Regions from separate parts of the Homo sapiens genome. Here region 2 is linked to region 1. Evidence: promoter capture Hi-C in human tissues and cell types (Jung and others, 2019). All regions are on one chromosome and are shown on one strand. Each heading gives the region's core, a stretch centred on a gene start or on the middle of the fragment in contact. The rest is flanking DNA. Distances are from core to core; before and after follow the strand shown. Region 1 holds the start of ZNF559 (zinc finger protein 559). Region 2 overlaps OLFM2 (olfactomedin 2).

Region 1 (3,973 bases), core at 834-3,333:
GGCACACGCCTGTAATTCCAGCTACTTGGGAGGCTGAGTCAGGAGAATCGCTTGAACGCAGGAGGCAGAGGTTGCAGTGAGCTGAGATCACACCACTGCACTCCAGCCTGGGACAGACAGACTCCGTCTCAAAAAAAAAAAAAAAAAAAAAAAAAATCAGGTGAATAGTCTAGTTAAAAAACAGATTTAACAGATCTAAAAACATGCAAACAACCTGGCAACTATAATGGTGACTATGGTGACTTTTGGACAGCTGGGGAAATCTGATTTGATTTGGGGGTGGGGATGGACAATGAAGTCTTGTTTTAAGCTTGTCTTCACTTTCAGGAGGTATTTGAGATACACGCTTAAAAGGGGAAAGTTCATTCACTTCCAATTTAAATGGCTCATGATAAAGTACATATACAAAAAAATGAAACAAATCTTAACAACTAGTGAATGTAGTTAAGGGTTAAAGACTTTTTTTTTTTTTTTTGGAGACGGAGTCTCGCACTGTTGCCCAGGCTGGAATGCAAGGGTGCAATCTTGGCTCACTGCAACCTCTGCCTCCCAGGTTCAAGCGATTCTCCTGCCTCAGGCTCCTGAGTAGCTGGGATTACAGGTGCCCACGCCCGGCTAATTTTTTGTATTTTGAGTAAAGACGGGGTTTCACTATGTTGGCCAGGCTGGTCTCAAACTCCTGACCTCGTGATCCGCCAGCCTCAGCCTCCCAACATGCTGGGATTACAGGCGTGAGCCACCACACCTGGACTAAAGACATTTGTTTTACTCGAGCTACAGATGTTCTCTAGATCAGTATTTGTTTTTTTTTCTTCTTTTTGAAACAGGGTCTCACTCTGTTGCCTAAGCTGGAATGCAGTGACACAATAATGGCTCACAGCAGCCTCGACCTCCCATGCTCAAGTGATCCTCGCATCTCGGCCTCCAAAGTGGATGGGACCACAGACACCACCATGCCCAGCTAATTTTTTATTTTTAGTAGAGACAGAGGCTTGCCCTATTTTTTCCAGGTTGGCATCAAATTCCTGGGCTCAAGCGATCCTCCAGCCTCAGCCTCCCAAAACGCTGGGATTACAGGTGTGAGCCACCTTGCCCCGCCCTCAGTAAGACTTTCAAATGAGTAACTGGTAGAAAACCCACCTGTCAAAAGTTATCTTCGCATTCATTATCAATTCAATCCCTCCTGCTAGTAAATCAGCCCGCACCGTGTTCCTGGGGATGCCCTCGTTTTGAACCTCTGGGGGAATCTACAGGGCGCTAGAGTGAGATCTAGGTGATGGCCTGGAACCACAGTTGAGTAGTCCTGTGTTTTTCCTTGGTGGTAAATTTTACAGTTATGTGCATTCATCCACTCATGCATTCGATGGTATCAGATCCATGTGCTCTCGAACAACCACCTGAAAAGGTTTCTTTCCACCTCGACACAACTTAAACTTCAAGACCCGACACCCACAGCCAGAACAAGTGCATGAAGTGCTCACCGGGACACGACAGAATTGTCAGGTTGCTGAGGCCAGGAGGACACCAAGCGAAGGTCACCGTGAACAGGAAGGCAGAGATGCTGTTCCTTATAGAGAAAAGGCACAACGCTGGATGTGGAGACTTTTTTTTTTTTTTCCATTAGAGATGGTTGGGGGGGGGGGTCTCCCTATGTTGCCCTGCCTGGTCTTGAACTCCTGGCCTCAAGTAATCCTCCTACCCAATCCGCCCAAAGCGCTGGGAATGACAGGCGTGAGCCGCCGCGCCGGGCCCTATGAGGCTTCTGCAGAGGGGAGCAGGGAAAATGGAAAGGCCGTGCCCCCCGCCTCCTCCCGGGCCGAGGCCCCAGCGCAGCCGCCTCGACCCCTGAGGACAGACCTGACTGTGGCTCTCAGAGGAGGGGCCGCGACTTGGGAGAGCCCACAAGATGCTCGAAATGCCCGAAAGTGCACGGGACAGGCTCCATTTCACTGGGCACCTCCCCTTTCCACCCTTCTACTCTCGCGTGGCTGCACCGGGACACCACCGAACGCCGCCCAGAAACAAAAACTTACCTCAGACGCCAACGGGAACGCGCTGTTAAGATGGCGGCCGTTATGCGCATGCGCCCACGCAGACACGCCGCGCACGCGCAAAGGCTAGGACCACCTAGGGGGCGGGGCCTCGGGTTCCCGGGCCCATCAGCTGCTGCGGCTTTTTCCAACCCAGAGCTGAGAGGAAATGCTGTTTACCTCCCCGAAGAGCGCAAGTGTCACCGGTAGGGGGTCTTGACTGCAAGCTGTCCAGGTTACTGGCGTTTTGAACAAAGAATTAGACAAAACGCCCAGCAAAGCAAAGAAAGAATGAAGCAACAAAAGAACAAGAGCTGGGATTTGTTGAAAACGAAAGCATACTCCACAGTGTGGGAACTGGCCAAGCGGCAGCTCAAGGGCTCCGAAACAGAACCTTCATGAGTCCCAATACCTCCTAGAATTTTCCCATTGGCCACTTCATGCTCACCTCCTGTAAATGAAGCGGTAGCCCGCGTTCAGTCTGATTGGTTGCAGAAAGCAGCCAACCAGAGTCTGAAGTTACAAAGGTCACACTCCTGTGCAAACATCTGATTGGTTGCAAAAAGCAACCAATCAAAGGCTAGGGTGAAGTTACGACGTTACAAAGTTACACTTCTATGCAAATGAAGACTCAACCGGCCATCAGTCTGATTTGTTGCAGACAGCCAATTTCCTATCTGCCAGCAGAAAAGGTCAAAGGGAGTAGCCTCTGGTCCTTTTGTTATTTAGGCGAGGAAAGTGAGGGTTTTCCTTTCAATTTAGTTCTAGGAAGTCGGCCTGAAACAGCCTTAAGTTCCCTGCCTCCCGACTCTATTCAGCCTCACAAGGGCTTGATTTTTGGTCATCTCACACTCAGAGACTAGAATGCTCCTATTGGAATTTGTTCAAAAATTAGCACATAGAGGCTGGGCCTGATGGCTCACGCCAGTGATCCCAGCACTTTGGGAGGCTGAGGCAGGCAGACCACTTGAGCTCAGGAGTTCGAGACCAGCCTGGGCAATATGGCAAAACCCTATTCCTATAAAAAAGACAAAAAACACAAAAATTAGGACGTAGTTAAGAGCATAGATAAGATTCATGCGGACTTCCTAAAAGTGAAAACACCAAGATCTGGGGTCGGGGAATCTAAGGCCAATTCGTGATAATTTCCTAAAGTTAAATCAAAGGAAAAACACCTGGGGCTGGGGGCAGGGCACCTAAGGCCAATTAACACAAACTTCCTGAAGCTAAACCAAAAGGAAAAACCCCATCTCCCCAAGATCAAAGACTACTCTCTCTACAGTAAAAAGTAAAGTAGAGGTTCCTCTTCAAAGACTTTCCTGCCCATCTAATTAGGAATAAATAGTAACTTCTGTTAGAAGCAAAATTTATTCAAAGACCTGTACTAATGTGTCCGGAATTGGTGGGTTCTTGGTCTCACCGACTCCAAGAATGAAGCCGGGGACCCTCGTGGTGAGTGTTACAGATCTTAAGGTGGCACGTCTGGAGTTTGTTCCTTCTGATGTTCGGATGTGCTCGGAGTTTCTTCCTTCTGGTGGGTTCGTGGTCTTGCTGGCTCAGGAGTGAAGCTGCAGACCTTCGCGGTGAGTGTTAGAGCTCTTAAAGCGGCGCGTCTGGAGTTGTTCATTTCTCCCGGTGGGCTCGTGGTCTCGCTGGCTTCAGGAGTGAAGCTGCAGACCTTCGCGGTGAGTGTTACAGCTCATAAAAGCAGTGTGGACCCAAAGAGTGAGCAGTAGCAAGAGTTATTGCAAAGAGTGAAACAACAAAGCTTCCACGGCGTGGAAGGGGATCAAAGCGGGTTACCACTGCTGGCTGGGGCAGCCTGCTTTTATTCTCTTATGTGGCCCCACCCACATCCTGCTGACTGGTAGAGTCAAGTGGTCTGTTTTGACAGGGCGCTGATTGGTGCCTTTACAATCCCTGAGCTAGACACAAAGGTTCTC
Region 2 (4,208 bases), core at 650-3,149, 600 kb before region 1:
GACCTCAGATGATCTGCCCGCCTTGGCCTCCCAAAGTGCTGGGATTACAGGCGTGAGCCACGGTGCCGGGCCTATTTCTAAGACGGGGTCTTGTTCTGTCACCCATGCTGGAGTGCAGTGGTGCAGTCATAGCTCACTGAAGCCTCCAACTCCTGGGCTCAAGTGATTCTTCTGCCTCAGCCTCCTGAGTAGCTAGGGTGACAGGTACATGGTACAGAGTTCAGCTATAGTACAAAATTTAAGGGTATGCCCCCCAAAAAAATAAAAACCAGTAACCAAGATAAATAATATTTTAATGGAACATTTTAAGAAAAATCTAAATTGATGCAAGAAAAATCTATAATGAATAAAAACAAATTTTTAAATAAATATGGGCTCCCCCTCTGCACTTGCATAACTTGCCTCACTCTAACTTTGGCCCCATAGGCATGTGTCTGTGGTGTCATGCGTGTATGTGTATGTTTGGTGACTGTGTGCATGTTCAGGGACCATGAGCACAGGGACATGCTTGTATCATCATCACACCAGTGACTGTATCCATGTAGGCCAACCATATGGTATGTGTGGATTTCTTTCTTTCTTTCTTTTTTTTTTTGAGATGGAGTTTCGCTCTTGTTGCCCAGGCTGGAGGTCAGTGGCGCGATCTCGGCTCACCGCAACCTCTGCCTCCTGGGTTCAAGTGATTCTCCTGCCTCAACCTCCCGAGTAGCTGGGATTACGGGCATGCACCACCACATCCAGCTAATTTTGTATTTTTAGTAGAGACGAGGGTTCTCCATGTTGGTCAGGTTGGTCTCGAACTCCTGACCTCAGGTGATCTGCCTGCCTCAGCCTCCCAAAATGCTGGGATTACAGGCGTGAGCCACCACGCCTGGCCTGGTATGTGTGGGTTTCTGATGAGCCCAGTGGCTGGTGTGGGCAATGACTTTGTAGCCCCAGGATTCAGTGTTAGTGCCTGAGAGACAGTAATGTGCTGTTTTCATTTGTTCCTACATGCATGTATTCATTTATTTTATTTTATTTTATTTTATTTTATTTTGAGACGGGGTCTCACTCTGTCGCCCAGGCTGGCGTGAAGTGGTGCAATCTCGGCTCACTGCAACCTCCACCTCCCGAGTTCAAGCTCTTCTCCCGCCTCAGCCTCCCAAGTAGCTGGGACTACAGGCACACACCACCACACCCACCTAATGTTTACATTTTTAGTAGAGACAGGGTTTCTCTATATTGTTGTTCAGGCTGGTCTCAAACTCCTGACCTCAGGTGATCCACCCGCCTCAGCCTCCCAAAGTGCTGGGATTACAGGTGTGAGCCACCGCGCCCGGCCCATGTATTCATTTAGAGAGCATTCATTGAGAGCCTTCTGTATCTCAAGCGTTGTACTATGCAACAAGCACTGGGTGGTAGTTTGTGCTTTCAAGGGGTGGAGTAGATTTAACTTCTGGAGGAGTTGAGTCTGGCTGTGTTGGGAAAAAACTTGTCATGACAGGAACATTTTATTCCCATATCTAGGGAACTCTTGTCTGAGAACATTGACATGTCCTCCCTGCCAAGGTGGAAGCCCATTCTATCTCTTTTTTTCTTTTTGAGATGGGGTCTTGCCATGGTGCCCAGGCAGGCCTCGAACTCCTGGGCTTAAGCAATTCTCCTGCCTCAGCCTCCCAAGTAGTTGGGATTACAGGTGCACACCACCTCAGTGTGTCTTGCAACTTCATCCATCCAGAGTGCAGCCACAAACCAAGAAGTCACCAGGAAAGAGCAGAGAGTAGGGAGAGTAGATTCCATGAAGACTGTATACAAAAGCTTATTCTCTTTCTCTCTTTTTTTTTTTTTTAGACAGAGTCTCACTCTGTCGCCCAGTCTGGAGTGCAGTGGCACGATCTCATCTCACTGCAACCTCTGCCTCCTGGGTTCAAGCAATTCTCATGCCTCAGCCACCCAAGTAGCTGGGACTACAGGCGTGCACCACCATGCCTGGCTAGTTTTTGTATTTTTAATAGAGACGGGGTTTTGCCATGTTGCCCAGGCTGGTCTTGAACTCCTGGCCTCAAGTGATCCACCCACCTTGGCCTCCCTCAGTGCTGGGATTACAGGCATGAGCCACTGCATCCAGCCTGGAAAAGGTTGTTCTTGTTGCTCCTGGGGACCCAGTAGACTCTCGGTCCCAGTTTACTCTTACTTTACACATAGTTCCAACAATCCTGGGCAGCTAGTAACTAGCCTTGCTTAATAGATGAGAAGACAGGTGTCATTGCACAAGAAGAAAGAAACAAAAAGGCAAAGCCAGTTCAGCCATCAAATGAAATGGCAAATAGCTTCTCACTTTTTAGGCTCTAAGAGAGTCCTGGTGAATCCCAGGAAGAATACATGATGAGCACATGGTGAGCCGGGTTCTTTTTAAATTTTATTTTGTTTTTTTTTTTTTAAGACGCAGGGTCTTGCTCTGTTGACCAGGCTAGAGTGGAGTGGTGTGACCACAGCCCACTGTAGCCTCAACCTCCTTGGCCCAAGTGATCCTCCTACCTTAGCCTCTCAAATAGTTAGGACTACAGGTGTGTACCACTACATCCAGCTAATTTTTCTCTTTCTTTTTCTTTTTTTTGGTAGAGATGGGGGTCTCACTATGTTGCCCAGGCTGGTCTTGAACTCTTGGCCTTAAGTGATCCTCTTGCCTCAGCCTCCCAAGGTGCTGGGATTACAGGCATGAGCCACAGGGCCCAGCTAATTTTTGTATTTTTAGTAGAGACAGGGTTTCACAATATTGTTCAGGCTGGTCTCGAACTCCTGACCTCAAGTGATCCGCCTCAGCCTCCCAAGGTGCTGGGATTACAGGCATGAGTCACTGCACCCGGCCCACATTGTTTCTGTTCCTAATTTCTCTAGTAATTTCTATGAGAAAGACACTGATAGAGGCACTCACTCACTCAGGAGGGACGTGACACAGTCCGCTCTGAATGGCTGTCAGTTGCCAAATTTGGGAGACAGATGCAGCCGACACATGGTACAAAGTGCCAGATGTCAAGAGTCAAGTGGGCTTCCTGGGGGAGGTGGCATTTGAGATGGGCCTTGAAGGATGAGCGAGTGAAGACTGGAGGGTGGACACAGAAGAAAGTCATTGGTCATGCTGACAAGACCTGGTGGGTTTACCCTTATTTTACATGATTCTAACCATGTTTAAAAGAGGGGAAGTTTCTGGAAATGGGAACTAGGGTAAGTGTGTGGTTGATGCCTATGGTGGGTGCAGATAGGAGAAGGGAAGTGAGCTTGAAAAGGTTGTGATCTGACTGTAAAGGCTTCGAAAGCTGGGTTAAGGATTTTAGAATTTATTTATTCATTTATTTATTTATATTTTTTTCGAGACAGAGCCTCGCTCTGTCGCCCAGGCTGGAGTGCAGTGGTGCGATCTCAGCTCACTGCAACCCTCCCCTCCCAGGTTCAAGCAATTCTCCTACCTCAGCCTCCCAAGGAACTGGGTTAACAGGCGCGTGCTACCACGCCTGGCTAATTTTTGTATTTTTAGTAGAGACAGGATTTCACCATGTTGGCCAGGCTGGTCTCAAACTCCTGACCTCGTGATCTGCCTGCCTCGGCCTCCTAAAGTGCTGGGATTACAGGCGTCAGCCACCGTGCTGGACCTTATTTATTTATTTTTAGAGATAGAGTCTTGCTCTGTTGCCCAGGCTGGAGTGCAGTGACGCGATCACAGCTCACTGCAGCCTCAAACTCCTGTGCTCAGGCAATCCTCCCACCTCAGCCACCTGAGTCACTGGGACCACAGGCGTGTGCCACCATGCCCACATAATTTTTTTTGTTTATTTTTTGTAGTGACAGGGTCTCACTATATTGTCCAGGCCGGTCTTGAACTCCTGGGCTCATAAGATCTTCCTGCCTCAGCCTCCCAAACTGCTGGGATTACAGGCGTGAGCCACTGCACTTGGCCTAGAATTTAGTGAGCTGGTAATAGTGACTCATAGAAGAGGTTGTGCATGTTTAAATGGAAGACTTTAAAAATTTTTAATTGTGGTAAAATACACATAATATAAAATTTATCACTTTAGTCATTTATTTATTTATTTATTTATTTTTGAGATGGAGTCTCGCTCTCTGTCCCAGGCTGGAGTGCAGTGGCGCGATCTCAGCTCACTGCAAGCTCCGCCTCCCAGATTCAAGCGATTCTCCCATCTCAGCCTCCGGAATAGCTGGGACTACAG

Evidence for each region. Contacts are between HindIII fragments. The study calls those that stand out against the background at their distance.
Region 2: a contact is called between a fragment that was not itself captured here and the fragment with the promoter of ZNF559 in region 1, in 1 of the 25 tissues and cell types used here (spleen).

What each region holds. Positions count from the first base shown.
Region 1 is chr19:9,322,289-9,326,261 of GRCh38, reverse strand. ZNF559 (zinc finger protein 559) reads right to left here and starts at 2,083. Exons shown (of 7, transcript NM_032497.3): 1 at 2,034-2,083; 2 at 1,482-1,567. It overlaps ZNF559-ZNF177 (ZNF559-ZNF177 readthrough), which reads right to left and starts at 2,083. Exons shown (of 13, transcript NM_001384659.1): 1 at 2,034-2,083; 2 at 1,482-1,567. RefSeq lists a silencer at 1,680-1,819 and an enhancer at 1,990-2,239. The HindIII fragment of the contact is 8,356 bases long and covers 1-3,973 here.
Region 2 is chr19:9,926,427-9,930,634 of GRCh38, reverse strand. All of the region lies in intron 1 of OLFM2 (olfactomedin 2), which reads left to right. Among named protein-coding and RNA genes, the nearest start is that of OLFM2, 8.0 kb to the left of the region's middle. The HindIII fragment of the contact is 7,982 bases long and covers 1-4,208 here.